Regions from separate parts of the Homo sapiens genome. Here region 1 is linked to region 2. Evidence: promoter capture Hi-C in human tissues and cell types (Jung and others, 2019). All regions are on one chromosome and are shown on one strand. The core of a region is centred on a gene start or on the middle of the fragment in contact, and the rest is flanking DNA. Distances in the headings are between cores, read along the strand shown. Region 1 has its middle 36 kb from the start of GDF6. Region 2 holds the start of GDF6 (growth differentiation factor 6).

What was found. The method cuts DNA at HindIII sites, captures the fragments that hold promoters and counts their contacts. A contact is called where the count stands out against the background at its distance.
Region 1: a fragment that was not itself captured here is called in contact with the fragment with the promoter of GDF6 in region 2 in 1 of the 25 tissues and cell types used here (heart right ventricle).

Annotation. Positions count from the first base shown.
Region 1 is chr8:96,122,821-96,126,048 of GRCh38, forward strand. No RefSeq gene overlaps it. Among named protein-coding and RNA genes, the nearest start is that of GDF6, 36 kb to the right of the region's middle. The HindIII fragment of the contact is 3,843 bases long and covers 1-3,228 here.
Region 2 is chr8:96,159,065-96,162,580 of GRCh38, forward strand. It overlaps GDF6 (growth differentiation factor 6), which reads right to left and starts at 1,742. Exons shown (of 2, transcript NM_001001557.4): 1 at 1,223-1,742. The coding sequence starts at 1,628. The HindIII fragment of the contact is 22,921 bases long and covers 1-3,516 here.

The DNA.
Region 1 (3,228 bases), core at 366-2,865, 36 kb before region 2:
TTATCTTTAAGGCTGAAGAAAATTTCATTGTACGTATATATCACATTTTGCTTATCTACTCATTCTTCGATGGACACTTGAGTTGCTTCCACCTTTCAGGTGTTGTGAATAATGCTGCCATGAACATGGGTGTACAAATCTCTCTTTAAGATCCTGATTTCAGTTCTCTTGGGTATATACTCAGAAGCAGAATTGCTGGGTCATATGGTAATTTTATTTTTGTTTTTTGAGAAACTGCCATGATGTTTTCCATTGTGGCTGCACCATTTTACATTCCTGTCAATATTGCAGAAGGGTTCCAATTTCTCCACATCCTCACCAACACTTGTTATTTTCTGGAGTTTTGGTTTTTTAATATAGTAGACATCTTAATGGATGTGAGGTGATATCTCATTGTGGCTTTTATTTGCATTTCCCTAACAATTAGTGCTGTTGAGCATCTTTTCATGTATTTATTGGCCAATTGTATATCTTCTTTGGGGAAATGTCTATTCATGTCCTTTGCCTATTTTCAAATCAAGTTTTTATTGTTGACATTGTTGAGTTGTCGGAGTTCTCTATGTATTCTGGATATTAACCCCTATCAGATATACAATTTGCAAATATTTTCTCTGATTCCATAGATTGCCTTTCCATTGTGTTGATTGTGTCCTTTGATGAGAAGAAGTCATTTACTTGTTTATTATGCTTACTGTTTTGATTTCTGTCTCCCCTCTAAAATGCAGTCTCTGTGAGGGCCAGGCCATACGTATTTCGTCCATGGCTGCATCCCCAGTGCTATGAACAGTGCTTGGCACTTAGTAGGATCTCAATAAATATTTGCCAAATAGCTGAATATGTGAATGGACAGATTAAAGATATGGTCTGGGCTTCTTGCAGTTCCTAAAACCCATGTGTGGTGCAAAAGTGAAAAAAATCTGAAGCATAATTAACAGTTATTTTAAAAATGCTCTAAAACAATAGCTTACACATAGGTTTCTTGAATGAAGGGCTTTTTAAAAACTCTTCTCCCATATGTAGCTGGTTTCCCAGGCTAGTTGGAAAGCATGCCTGCCTCCTTCTTTGGAATCCATTAAAGTGACAAATGCCAACTCTGAACACAAACCGTGTTCATTCCATTTCACCCACCCTGTATTATTGGCTCTCCTTGCCCCTACCCGGCCTCTTAATACCTGGCTGCTCTCCCGGTCTTCTTCCCTGTCTGAGCTTCTCCCCATGGCCCTTTCTCACATTGCCCCATATCTGCTTTATGTCGAAGGTCCCAGCCCGGCTCTGTCAGGGATTACTTTGCTTCCATTGTTCTGCCGAGGACCACACACTGGGGCACGGCTCAGGTACCCTTTAGTCTAAGGAGGCCTGTGGGAACCTTGGAGAAAGGAATAAAGGGGGGCAGTGATTGAGCAGTACTTAGGAGGGGCCAGTTACATGTCAACCCCGATTAATGATAATGGTAATTTAGAATCTGCTTATGGTTTCTATTGTTAGGCTTTGCCAAGAAGTTTCCGACATGGTATTTCAAAGGGTTCCGGGGCTGGCTGATGCTGCAGACTTAACCTTCTACTGCAGGGAGATCAGCGAGCAGGGTGTGTGTGGCTTCAGAGGAGCGGCTTGCCTGAAACAGTGTGCCCTGTCATTAATGCGGGTCCTGTCTGGTCAGGTGCATCTCTTCCTTCATGTTCACCAGGATCCACCCACTCCAGTGCAGCAATAGAGACAAGAGGACTTTGATTATTCTCATGACAAAGACAAATTGTTGAGATTGTCCCTTCTCCTTTACTCCCTCTTCTAGGTTGCTCTGTTCACGCAAGCAAAAAAAAAAAAAAAAAAAAAAAAAAAAAAAAAAAAAAACTATACTTCCAACTGAGAACAATGAACTTTAGCAAGCTTTGTTGTCCAGGAGAGAGGCAACCTATAAATAAGGTTAAGTGTATATGAACTTGGCCACAGGCTGCTGAGATTCAAATCCTGACCCAGTTGCTTTCTAGCTTGGAGACTTGCAGCAAAACACTTAATCTCTCCGGGACTCATTTTCCACATCTGGAAAATGGGGATGATGATAAGACTTCCTTTGTCATTGATAATGAGAAATCAGTGAAGTACTGCAAGTAAAACCCTAAGAACAGCATCTGACACACAGTAAGTGCTTGTCAAATGTGCATTATTACTATCATTGCACAATTGGGGAAGGGTCAGAGGTCTCTTCCTTTAGAACGGGGTTTCCAACCTCAGCACAGTTGACACTTTGGGCCTGATAATTCTTGGTTATGGGGGGCTGTCTGTGGATTGAAAGATGTTTAGCAGCCTCCCTGACCTCTACCTGCTAGATGCCACCTTCACTGTCCCCCCAACCACAACAATCAAAAATGCCTCCTGCCAAATGTCCCTGAAAAGGGAGGTGGAAGAGGGAAGGGAGTTTTTGCCTGGTTTTGACCTACTTCTTTAGAATAAACAGCAAAAATTCTATATAAATGCATTTCTGTGGCTATATCCCACTGTGTGAAGGCAGTTTTCCTTAAACTGGGAATTTCAATATTCCTAGAGGGATTTGAAGAGTTACAAGATCACAGAAAGCGATTCCAACACGCTTTCTATCCTTGCAATCGTGGTTGGCCACTTTAGCACCTCCATCCACAATTAATCCCTGCCCTCCAGAGGGTGGCCCACCATTCATTAGCTGCTACCTGGCTCAACTCCCACCTAAAGGGCAGCAAGACCAGATGCTGCAGGCAGGACAGGGTGTGTGCCCTCCCCAAATCAATGCTTGGCATGTACTAGATGCTTTGTGAAAGTTGATTGAATGAAAGCAAGAATTGAGTCATGCTTTAGCATAGTTTTTTTTTTTTTTCATTTTCTGTTTGTTTTTGACTCACAGAACCTCATCTTTCCAAAGAGCAGTAAATCTCACACAAAACTGAAATCTGAGCGGCAGAACAGGAAAACTAAGGCAGAAAAAATGTCCCAGCTTAGGAAAAAAACAAGAGAAATTGCAAAGGAGTGATGGTGGGGCATCTTTTGATTCCTCCATCTTCTGGGGAAAAAAAAAACTGTATTCTGTTTTTAGCTGGTAATACATTTCTTTCCATATTTTAGGGATGCAATGAGCAAGGAAAGACGAGGAGGGGGGTCCTCCTTAGAGGCTTAGAGATCAAGCAGTTCTCTCTCCCCACTTCCTGTCTGCCCCCAAAAAGAAGGCAAAGTATGTGGGCCACCTTAACAGAGCGGGTGGCC
Region 2 (3,516 bases), core at 492-2,991:
GCAGCTTCCGAATCCCGAACCCCAGCGCTGCAAGGTTTCCGGGCAACCCCACTTAACTGGGAGCAGGTCAAAGTCATGGAGCTAAGTCTAGGGAGGATGGAGGAGTGGATATCTGCCTAAATCGCTTTTATCCCGTCATTTTCTTCCTTCCTTCTCTTTACTCTTCCTTTCCTTTTTCTCCCTTCCTTTCCTGTCTCCTTCCACATTATTGTCTCTCTCCTTTAGGAGCTTAGTTTCCGATGCCTGTGGATCCTTCCCTGATTTCTGGGACCAGAGGTGGTGCGAGGTTTTCTTGAGGGCACTGGCCACGCTGCAGATCAACGCCGGTGGCAAGAAGGGGCCGCAAGGGTTTCCGCAGACACCCACACATGCAGGCGTTCCCACAGAGGGTACCAGGGATTTCCCAGACCCCCACCAGCCCTCAGGAATAGCGTAGAGAGAGGAACGTCGCCTGGCTGAGAAAGGTGGATGGGCATACCCATGTACCTTTGTGTATTAAGTACCCACAACCTCCGAACTTAGCCGTCCCTGTCCCGGCCCGCCCAACTGCTGCCGCCGCATCTGCAGAAACCACTCGTGTTGAGGCCTCGGAGCAGCCGGGAGCACCACGCTGGAGCAAAAAAGCCGGAGGGCGCAGGGCTCCAGCCCGGCTGACCATCCCACCCAGCGCAGGGACCAACGGAAAACCCGCGCGGCGCCAGGACCAGGGGGCTGCCCGACGCCGCTCGCGGACTAGTTCCTCAGACTGTGGGACTCCCTAGTGCCGGCTTTGCCCAGGGCTTTCCAAGGCTGTCTCATGCCCTAGATCTGCCCCAGCAGCTCAGGCCTTGGACTGCGAACCCAGTATCCCGAGACACCGATTCCATCAGTCCCCATCCCGACCCCTCTCCAGCCGGGTTCATCCGCCTGCTGCCTCCCGTCCTCCACGTTTCCCCCACCAGCCACCAACAAGCGGCAACCACGCTGCCTTCTGCAAAAGAGGAAGAAGGAAAGAAGGGAGAGAGAAAGAAAGGGGGGGAAAGGAAGGGAGGTTTAGAGACTGGAATAGAATCCGCAGCCACATTCAGAAACTTACTCGAGCTTGAGAAAAACAATTTAAGAAAAGTAAAAAGGAAGTGTCCAGAGCAGGAAGGGAATTCACAAATGTAGCCTCCAGCGGGAACAGCTCCCTGGCTGCCGAGCTCCAGCGGGAGGGGAGTCGAGCGTTTTCTTTGCCACTTACCTAGTCCCCTGTCTACAAAGCTGGTGATCGTATTAGCCGACTTGGAAGACTGGAAAAAGCTGGCATTGATGCCCAGCTTCTCAGCGATGGAGTAAGTCCTGTAGATTGACAGCATGTACTCGTGGGGCACCACGCGCGGACCCCTGCCTGGCGGCTCCTGCGCCCGGGGCTGCTGAGCCCGGGGTTCGTCCTGAGGCCGCGGCTGTGGTTCCTGGCCCTCCCGGCCCGCGTCACTGTCGCGCGGCGCCCGCTGCATCTTGCCTTCCTTGCGGCTTCGCATGCCCTTGGTGGAACCCAGCTCGGCGGACGACGAGGAGGATGAGATGGAAGCCTGCTGGAAACCGGGCAAATCCCACAGAAAACTGATGAGGAAGACGGCCGAGAGCAGGACCCTGGGAGTATCCATGGCGGGCAAGTGGCTGCGTCTCCCCAGGAGGCGGTGGCGGCGGCGCAGGACGCGCGGGGCACGGAGCGGCTGGACAGCGGCCGGGGCCCGGCTCCTCGGGCGGACTCGGAGTGCGAGGAGCCGGGTCCCAGCCACACAAACCCCGGCCCCGCCACGCCCCCTCCCGCCCCTCGCCGGGAGGGGAGGAATGGGGAGGGAGGGCAGAGGAGGGGTGGGGAGGGTGGGAGGAGAGCCGGGTGGTGCGGGCCGGAGGTGTGGGGGAGAGGGGCCGCGGTGCGCCGGTGTGGCAGGAAGACGCAGCGCCCCCGCGGGACGCGCGCGGGGTTGCCGGGCGGTGCGCGCGGCGCGGGCCGCAAGCGCTGACCGGGGGAAGGCGGGCGCTGCCGGCCCGTGGCCGGGGAGCAAAGGCTGGCCCGCCGCGCCAGGGTCCCCCTCGAACTCCCGGAGGTGTGGTCCCTCCGCAGCGCGGCCCCGGCTCTCGGTCCTCGCCAGCCGCCTCCACTTTCCTGGGAGCGAGCGGCCCCGGAGGAGGGAAGCGGCGGCGGCGCCCCCAAGAGACAGCTTGGAGCAGGCGCCTCTGCTGCAGGCTGCGTGCTGCCTCGGGGCGGTGGTACCCTCCCTCCTCGGCCCCAACCGCCAGGCCTGCCGTTTGCGCCCCTCAGGGGCCAGCCCGGAGCCAGAGAAGCCTCGCCCTGGGCCAGGCGCAGGGCCCAGCTCGGAACAGCCCCATTTTCTCGGTTGGGTATCGCTCTCCACAAAGACAGGCGTCTATTCCCGACCCTCGAGGTCAGGCAAAGGCCACGAGTCTTTAGAGTTTGGATCGATGCTAAAAGCTGCTGCGCTCCCCTGCAGGCCCCAGCCTCTCCTCTCGCAGTCCCCAACCTCTTCTGACGCAGACTTTAGCTGCTCCACTTCTTCGTCTGCTCCCGGGATCCTCTCCCTCTCGCGGCCTGCCCCCCGCCTCCACTGCATCCCCATTTTCCCTCTCTTCTTTCCCTCCCGCCTGCAGGACTTCCTCCTTCCCCAAGTTCCTTCTGCATTCCAATCCCTCTTCCCCAGCCTGCTTTTCTTCTCACACTGCCCTCCCATCTCACACTGCCTTCCCACCCTCTCTCTTCCCGGCCTCCCCCCTCGCCTTCCAGTGGACCCCTCCCTTTGCAGCTCTACCCCAATCTGTTTCTCTTCAGCCCAGCCTCGCCCCATCACGAGTTTCCTTTATCTGTCCCCAGATTCCCCGTGCCTGTCTTCCCCGCCCACTGCCTCGCTCATTCCTGGGCCTGCACGCTGAAAGGCGATGCGGCGTAGCGCTGCTTCTGTCTGCCACAGTGCTCTGCCCTGGACTGCTATGGGCAGAAGAGTTTCCCTCAGTACTGATTGGGTGCTCAGGCACCAACCATAAAGTACCCTCCTTTAATCGTGCCAACAGCTTTGTGAGGTTGGCGTTGACTATTTTCACCTTCACGGATGGAAAAAAAAAAGACTCAATGGAAATAAGTGACTTTTCCAAGGCCACTCTGCCAAGAGGTTATGCAGCAAGGGACAGAACCCAGGCTCCCACCCCAAGCCCAAGATTCTTCCCACTACAGCATAGACAGTCATTCCTGGCCCAACTTCTCTATTTCAGTTCTGGCTTTTTTCTTCTCTTTATGGTTTCACTTGATCTCAGGTGGCTTCTTTCTCCGCCATGCTACTTTCTGTGTGTGTTCCCAGTCTCTCCAATCTCCTCCCTCTCACTTTCTAACCCCTTCTTCCTTTTGCTTTTTCATCACCTCTTCTGTCCTGCAGGGACCACTCACATGACAGCCTGCAGGGGGAGGGAGTTTTGCTGCGCTGCTCCCCTCATCCTTTAACTTCCTTAAGGTCTGGGATATGCCCTCCACCCTGGACA